2 separate regions of the Homo sapiens genome follow, and region 2 is linked to region 1. Evidence: promoter capture Hi-C in 16 types of primary human blood cells and fetal thymus (Javierre and others, 2016). All regions are on one chromosome and are shown on one strand. The core of a region is centred on a gene start or on the middle of the fragment in contact, and the rest is flanking DNA. Distances in the headings are between cores, read along the strand shown. Region 1 holds the start of RBL2 (RB transcriptional corepressor like 2). Region 2 overlaps CHD9 (chromodomain helicase DNA binding protein 9).

Region 1 (4,305 bases), core at 576-3,075:
CTCCCAAAGTGCTGGATTTACAGGTGTGATCCACAACGTCCAGCCTATATACTTAAGATACTTCTAAACCATTTGTGTTCAACTTCTGTTCTTGCCCCATAGTCACCTTGAGACTCATCACTTAGCCAACTCCAAAAGCATTGCTGATTACTGTGAATTTTACTAAGGTTTTCTTAAGAGGGTTCCATTGTCTCAAAATTGTTCCTGAAATATCCTGTTACCTGTCTACCTGATTTTCTCCTATCTTCAGAGTTCCATTTCCTGTCCTCCCGCCTGTCATTATACCTTCCATAAGCCCCTACTTTTGTCCCAGCACTTTTCCCTCTGTCAGTTTACATATCCCACCAAGCAAAACAAAAATAGCAAAACAGTAATGCCTTCTGAATCCTCAAATTGCTCAATCCTCAGATTGCTCCTCAATCTGGAAAATGTTTTATATCAAGCCCATTTATAAATCAAGGATTGGCAATTTAAAAAATTAAAATAAAGAAAGGAGAATTGGAAATAAAATGAATTGGCTGGGCACGGTGGCTCACGCCTGTAATCCCAGAACTTTGGGAGGCCGAGGTGGGTGGATCACTTGAGGTCAGGAGTTCGAGACCAGCCTGGCCAACATGGTGAAACCCTGCCTGTACTGAAAATACAAAAATTAGCTGGGTGCGGTGGCGCACACCTGTAATCCCAGATACTCAGGAGGCTGAGGCAGGAGAATCGCTTGAACCCAGGAGGCGGAGGTTGCAGTGAGCCGAGATCGTGCCACTACACTCCAGCCTGGGCAACAGAGCCAGACTCTGTCTCAAAAAAAAAAAAAAAGTTTAATTCACGCAGAGCCAGCTGAACGGCAGACAGGAGTTTGGTTATTCAAATCAGCCTACCAGAAAATTCGGAGACTGGGGTTTTTAAAGAATGACTTGGCGGGTAGGGGGCCAGGGATTGGCGAATGCTAATTTGTCAGGTGGGAGGTGAAATCACAGGGGGTTGAAGTGGGCTCTTGCTGTCTTCTGTTACTGAGTGGAATTGCAGAACTTGTTGAGCCAGATTATGGTCTGAGTGGCGCCAGCTAGTGCATCGGAATGCGCGGTCTGAAAAGTATCTCCAGCACCAATCTTAGGTTTTACAATAGTGATGTTATCCCTGAGAGCAATTGGGGAGGTCAGGAATCTTATAGCCTCTGGCTGCAAGCCTCCTAAATCATAATTTCTAATCTTGTGGCTAATTTGTTAGTTCTACAAAGGCAGACTGATCCCCAGGCAAGAATGGGGTTTGTTTTTGGAAAGGACTGTTACAATCTTTGTTTCAAAGTGAAATTAGAAATTAAATTCCTCCTGTAGTTAGTTAGGTCTTCGCCCAGGAATGAACAAGGGCAGCTCGGAAGTGAGAAGCGTGGAGTCATTTAGGTCAGATCCCTTGCACTGTCATAACTTTCTCACTGTTAGGATTTTTGCAAAGGCAGTTTCGTGAACGTACAGAGACAGGCCCTTGCTATTATCCCTATTTTTTAGATAAGGATATCCAGGCGATGAGGAAGTTTTACTTCTGGGAACAGCCTGGATACGAAACCTTCACACGTCAGTGTCTTTTGGACATTTTCTCGTCAGTACAGCCCTGTTGAATGTTCTCACGGTGGGGAGGTACGTGTTTAAAATGCGGGGAAGGTGCTTTTATTTCACCCCTGGTGAAACTAGGGGAGCTAATTTTTTTAAACATGATTTTTGGCCCCCTTGAACCGCCGGCCTGGACTACGTTTCCCAGCAGCCCGTGCTCAAGACTACGGGTGCCTGCAGGCGGTCAGCGTCGTTTGCGGCGGCGCAGGCGCGGTGCGGGCGGCGGACGGGCGGGCGCTTCGCCGTTTGAATGGCTGCGGGCCCGGGCCCTCACCTCACCTGAGGTCCGGCCGCCCAGGGGTGCGCTATGCCGTCGGGAGGTGACCAGTCGCCACCGCCCCCGCCTCCCCCTCCGGCGGCGGCAGCCTCGGATGAGGAGGAGGAGGACGACGGCGAGGCGGAAGACGCCGCGCCGCCTGCCGAGTCGCCCACCCCTCAGATCCAGCAGCGGTTCGACGAGCTGTGCAGCCGCCTCAACATGGACGAGGCGGCGCGGGCCGAGGCCTGGGACAGCTACCGCAGCATGAGCGAAAGCTACACGCTGGAGGTGCGCTCGCGGGCGGAGGGGCGCTTCCGGCCTAGTTGGCGTGAACCGGTGCCTTCCGAGCCGCGTCGCGCGCCTCGAGAGACTCTCGGGCGGGTTGCGGGCTCCCAGCCCCGAGAGGGGTGGGGACTTCCTCTGCGCTATTCCGAGGCTCTTAGCCGCTCCGAGGGCTAACCCGCTCTCGCCGCGCTTTCCTGCGGCTTCCGAATGGGGAACGCGTCTTGCCCTAAAGTAGCACAGCAAGGCTGAGATCGCGCTGGGGTCCCGTTGAGGAAAATGGGTGTGTGTGGCCCATCTGACCCCCCGCCCGCCTTGTTAGTAGAATGAACTAGTGTCGTTGTCAAGACCACACGGACAAGGGGAGGGGACTTGCCCTTATTTGCACCGCGATTAACCGGGTTGTGGCACCTGGGTCTCCAGGCGTCTCCGTCTGTTCGCTTCCCCCTGTTAACCAAATTGCCTTTGCCCTGGCGTTGCGGGCGTTTGAGTCAACGTGCTGATGCGTTTTGGGCTGTGTTTACGTCTGTGTAAACAAATTAATACTCATTTCCCCCCAGGCCAGATGAAATGAGCCCTCCGCCGACCCGGATGTAGACACATGCCCCCATTTGTCACTAGGATCAGGACTGTGGCTACCTCGAGGGCTTTTTGGTCACCCCGGGCATTGCACAGGACTCCTGTTGTTGTTGCGATCCGGGTGTGTTAGGTCGCAGCCTTCGGACAGGGCTTGCAGATGAGAAAAATGGCCATTCTAGCCAGTGAGTGTCAGCTTTGTATGCACCTCCCCTTCATGGGCCAATGGGAAGTGACACGGAAGTACGGATTGTTTATCAGCTGTTTGACTGTGTGTGTGGCATTTAAACCTGAGGCCATTTGATTTCTCAAGTCGTTTTATAATTAATTTGTAGAAAGAGTCGGGCAAATAGGTCCAGGATGCAAAGCCTAACCAAGGTATTATTTAAATATGATGTTTTTGGCTATGTGTACTGATGAGTGAGGTTATTTTTAATTTGTATTTGCATTAATAGAATTTTAATTCAATTACTAGTTCCCTCTTTGAATTGTTAGGTCTGCAGAAGATAGTGTATGGTGGCTTTAGAACCCGACAGACCTGAAACCGCTGGAAAAGTTCAGTATGGTGATCTCTAAACTGGAGATATTTGTGTTTACCTCACAGAGCTGTTCTGAAGATTAAATAAGGCAATAATGTAGTTTCTGGCACATAAAGCACCCATATGGACAGTGTTTTCAAGTTTACTAAGCTCTTTGTATATTTACATGATCTGGCTGAGTAAGCTATGTTCCTATTCATCTCTCAGTGCCTTTCTGTAGTCTGGCAAAGAGAAGGACTGGTTGGCTTTTTATGTTGTTTTTTGTTTTTTGGGTTTTTTTTTGGTAAATGGCCTTAAAGGCTTCCAAACAAGCTCTTATTTTACCCTCAAGATAATCCTGTAAATCAGATAGAACAAGCATTATCGCCATTTATTTGAGGTATTTCAACTCATAGCAGTTAAGTTGTATGAAGTCTAGTGATACATGAGCAAGTATCACGTAATAGCTGGTTAGTAAATTATTTTTGAAAACATGTTTGATTACTCAATTCTTTTGATTACTGAGACTTTAGTTTCAGCTTCTTAGCCCAGTTTATTCAGTAAATGATTTACTCAGTAAAATATTCATCAAATATTTCTTGAGCACCTATTACTTGCTACACATTGTTCTAGGTGCTGGATATAGAGCAGCAAACCTGCTCTTGTGGGGCTTACAGTGAGGTACGCTGTGACAATATGGGATGTCATTCTCATGGGAGTGCAAGGGAAAATAAAGCTCTTATGATGTTTAATACAGAATACTGGTTATGGAATTTTAACTTGATTTCTTGTATTTTCTGTGCATTTTTAACCTGTAACTCATTCTCACAGTCCTCAGCCAAGAAAATGCAGCCTCTGAGACTGTTAAGTAATTTCCCCACTGTGTTATAGCTACTGTATGGCAGAGCCGGAATTTGAAACCAGATCTATTTGACCCTAGAAGATGTGACCATGAGATGTTAATTTTGAGGATAACTTTTTTAGTATTATGGAATTTTCAACATATATTTTTTAGGACCAAAGATAAACTAGGCACAGAGTCTACTCTTTGCATAAATTATTTAAA
Region 2 (4,242 bases), core at 492-2,991, 280 kb before region 1:
TTTTACTTATATAATTTTTATTCTTAAAGTAGCTTTATTGAGATATAATTCAGATACCATACAATTCATTCATCTAAAGTGTATATTTAGTGGCTTTTAGCATACTCAGAGTTGTTTATCCATTACCATAACCAATTTTAGAGCATTTTCGTTACCCCCAAAAGAAATCCCATAACCTGTAGCTATCACTCACCAATCACCAGTCCTTTCTACCCACCCACCATGCCACCAGCTCTAGGTGACCCACTAATCTATTTTCTCTCTATATATACTTGCCTACTTTTGACATTTTATATAAATCGAGTCATATAATATGTGGTATTTTGTGACTGACCTCTTTCACTTAGCATAATGTTTTCAGAGTTCATTTTTGTTGTAGCATGTATCAGTACTTAATTTCTCTTTATTGTTTTTGTTCCTTTTTTTCTAGGATTTTGACACTTCATGACATGTCATTATTTAGAGCAATAATGAATATTGACCTGTTTTGGATTAGTTGATGACCTTCGGAAATGATCCAATAATATCTACTATAGAGAAGCTGAATATACTCCATTTGGAGTGAACAGCCCGGATTGTTACAGAATTTTCAAGATGACAGATCCAATGATGGACTTTTTTGATGATGCCAATCTTTTTGGTGAGACCTTAGAAGGTTTGTCAGATGATGCATTTGTACAACCAGGACCTGTTTCACTAGTTGATGAATTGAATTTGGGTGCAGAATTTGAACCGTTGCACATAGATTCACTGAACCATGTTCAAGGTACTCCAACACATCAGAAGATGACTGATTTTGAACAGTTAAATCAATTTGATTCAATAAAATTTCACCATGTTAATCAATCTTTTGGTAGCCCAGCTGAACATGTGTTATCTCCACACTCTCAGTTTAATTGTTCTCCAATCCATCCCCAAAACCAACCCAATGGTTTGTTTCCAGATGTATCAGATGGCAGTCCAATGTGGGGCCATCAGACAGCTACTACCATTTCAAATCAAAATGGATCTCCTTTTCACCAACAAGGACATTCACACTCTATGCATCAAAATAAAAGCTTTGTGGCACACCATGACTTTGCCTTATTTCAGGCCAATGAACAACAAACACAGTGTACTTCACTACGCTCACAACAAAACAGAAATAATCTCAACCCAGGGCAGAATTCTCTTAGCCAGTCTAAAAATTTTATGAATGTTTCTGGTCCACATAGAGTCAATGTTAACCACCCACCACAGATGACTAATGCATCTAATTCACAACAGTCTATTTCAATGCAGCAATTTTCTCAAACGTCAAATCCTTCAGCACACTTCCACAAGTGTAGCAGTCATCAAGAAGGAAATTTTAATGGACCTTCCCCAAATATGACTTCTTGTTCTGTCAGTAATTCACAGCAATTTTCTTCACATTATTCCTTTTCCAGTAATCATATATCACCAAACAGTCTACTTCAGTCCTCTGCAGTTCTTGCATCTAATCATACAAATCAGACTTTATCTGATTTTACTGGAAGTAATTCCTTTTCACCTCATAGAGGAATCAAGCAAGAATCTACTCAGCATATCCTAAACCCCAATACATCATTGAATTCAAATAATTTCCAAATATTGCATTCATCACATCCTCAGGGTAATTATAGCAATTCAAAATTATCTCCTGTGCACATGAACTTCCCAGATCCTGTTGACTCAGGAACTCAAATGGGCCATTTCAATGATCATGTAGAAACTAATGGCTTTTCATCTTTAGAAGAGAATTTACTTCATCAAGTGGAATCTCAAACTGAGCCATTCACAGGACTTGACCCCGAGGACCTCCTTCAGGAGGGTCTTCTTCCTCACTTTGATGAGTCAACATTCGGACAAGATAATTCAAGTCACATTTTAGATCATGACCTTGATCGGCAGTTTACTTCGCATCTGGTAACACGGCCTTCTGATATGGCTCAGACTCAGTTGCAAAGTCAGGCTCGGAGTTGGCATTCATCATTTTCTAATCATCAGCATTTACATGACAGAAATCACCTATGTTTACAGCGACAGGTATGTAGCTCTTTGCTTTTATTTTGGAGATTTGGGGGTAGGGCGGACTGTTAGTCATTGGGTTAATTTTATATGAAACATAGTCAAGATTTCTCAAACTTGGTAATTCCATTAAGTGAACATACATATTTTGATATAGGTTTATATTGTTTTACAAGTCTTGTATTGAAAGTGATTCACTGATATGCTCAAAGCAATAGATTAGCTTCTATATTTAGAAAATTATAAGGTGTTAAGACTTCTTTTGTGATGTTTATGAATACCTTTGAGAGAAAGTTATTTTATCAAAAACAACTTAATAATCATAATTAAAAGGGAAAAACCAGACTGGGAAAATTTTATTGCAAATACAATTAACATTGAGTTAATATTCCTATAAAAAGCTTTATAAATTAGCAAACTTTTAAGACCTCAGTTGATAACTAGATAAAACATATAAGCTGAAATTCACAAAAAGGAAATTAAATTAGTAAACAAAACCAGAATAATATGCAGCTTTAATAATAAAAAATAAATTTAGAATGGTTTTATTTTTACCTATTAGAAAAACATGTTAAATGTTAATGCTTAATGCTGACAAATTTATGGTGAAATTGGTACCTACATGGCTTTGTTAATTAATGCAAATATTTTGAAAAGCAATTTGGTACTAGATTAAAGAATATAAAAATTCTCCATTTTAATAACCCAGACATAGCAGAAGTATATACCCAAAGATATTTGTCTTAATATACTTACAAGGGACAGCTGAAAAAAGCATAGCTCATTATTGTAATCACGATAGACCATAGGCACTAAAAAGATTTTGAACACTAACATTGAGAATATGTTAATGATGGAGAAAAGAGCGTAATTCAAAATTAAGATCACAGTGAAGTAAGGTTAAGAGTGTGGCCTTTGATACCAGACTACCTGGTTTAGAATTGTGGGTCCTGTTACTTAGTAGTTGGGTGACTTTGACTTAGATAATTTCCGTGCGTCTCTTTTTCCTCATCTTTAAAATGTGAAATAATAAAGGATTAATAGATTTATAACATGTAAACATGCTTAGACTATGCCTAGCATATAGTTAGAAATTAATACTTTTTTTTGTTTTTTTTTAATTTTTCTTTTGAGACAGGGTCTCACTCTGTCACCCAGTTTGAAGTGCAGTGGCACCATCAGGGCTCACTGCAGCCTCAACCTCCCTGGGCTCAGGTGATCCTCCTGCCTCAGCCTCCTGGGTAGCTGGGACTATAGGCATGTGCCACCATGCCTGGCTTTTTTTGTATTTTTTGTAAAGATGTGATCTTGCCATGTTGCCTGGGCTAATCTTGAGCTCCTGTACTCAACCAGTCCACTCTCCTCGGCCTCCCAAAGTGCTGGGATTATAGACGTGAGACACTCTGCCCAGTCTTAAGTGTTTTTATTAATTATACTTTTTTTCATAGTAGTATGAAAATATGTATATGGGCCAGTTATGTTAGCTTATGCCTGTAATCCCAGCACTTTGGGAGATTGAGGTGAGAGGATTGCTTGAGACCAGGAATTCCAGACCAGCCTGGACCATGTAACGATACTCTGTCTCTACAATAAATACATTTTTAAAAAATTAGCCAGGTATGATGGTGCACTCCTGTAGTCCCAGCTACTCAAGAGGCTGAGGTGAGCAGATAGCTCAAACCCAGGAGTTCCAGGCTGAGGTAAGCCATGATCACACCACTGCCAGTCTAGGCATTAGAATCAGACCCTCTGAGAAAAAAAGAAAATTTGTATATGAAAAAAATACCAGAAGAAAATAGGTTTAAGTAGTGCAGTTTTTCCCTTACTTTCTACAATTTTGTCGTGAACATATTACTTTTATAATAAAAAATTAATGTAATATTTTATGTTTTTAAAAATTCTCTTGTTAAATTAAGGATTCATAAAATGCTTCAATACCTTGGTTACCTGTGAGATTCTGTGGACAATGAAATATACCAAAGTTCTTGAAATTAAATATTTAGGGATCCATTTTTCATTTTAAAGCCTTGAAGTATTTGAAAAAGAAAAAATCTTTGTCTTTCCCATTGGATTGACTATAGTTCTATTTCTTTTTTCCTTTTTTGAGAAGGAGTCTCACTCTGTCTCCCAGGCTAGAGTGCACTGACACAATTTCCACTCACTGCAACCTCTGCCTCCCAGGTTCAAGTGATTCTCCTCCCTCAGCCTCCTGAG

What was found. The method cuts DNA at HindIII sites, captures the fragments that hold promoters and counts their contacts. A CHiCAGO score of 5 or more calls a contact.
Region 2: a fragment that was not itself captured here is called in contact with the fragment with the promoter of RBL2 in region 1 in 5 of 17 cell types (neutrophils, naive CD8 T cells, non-activated CD4 T cells and 2 more); the score reaches 10.5 in neutrophils.

Annotation. Positions count from the first base shown.
Region 1 is chr16:53,432,646-53,436,950 of GRCh38, forward strand. It overlaps RBL2 (RB transcriptional corepressor like 2), which reads left to right and starts at 1,826. Exons shown (of 22, transcript NM_005611.4): 1 at 1,826-2,151. The coding sequence starts at 1,912. RefSeq lists a silencer at 1,881-2,100 and an enhancer at 2,711-2,820. The HindIII fragment of the contact is 5,814 bases long and covers 1-4,305 here.
Region 2 is chr16:53,155,496-53,159,737 of GRCh38, forward strand. It overlaps CHD9 (chromodomain helicase DNA binding protein 9), which reads left to right. Exons shown (of 39, transcript NM_001308319.2): 2 at 431-2,046. The coding sequence starts at 595. Among named protein-coding and RNA genes, the nearest start is that of CHD9, 100 kb to the left of the region's middle. The HindIII fragment of the contact is 1,371 bases long and covers 1,057-2,427 here.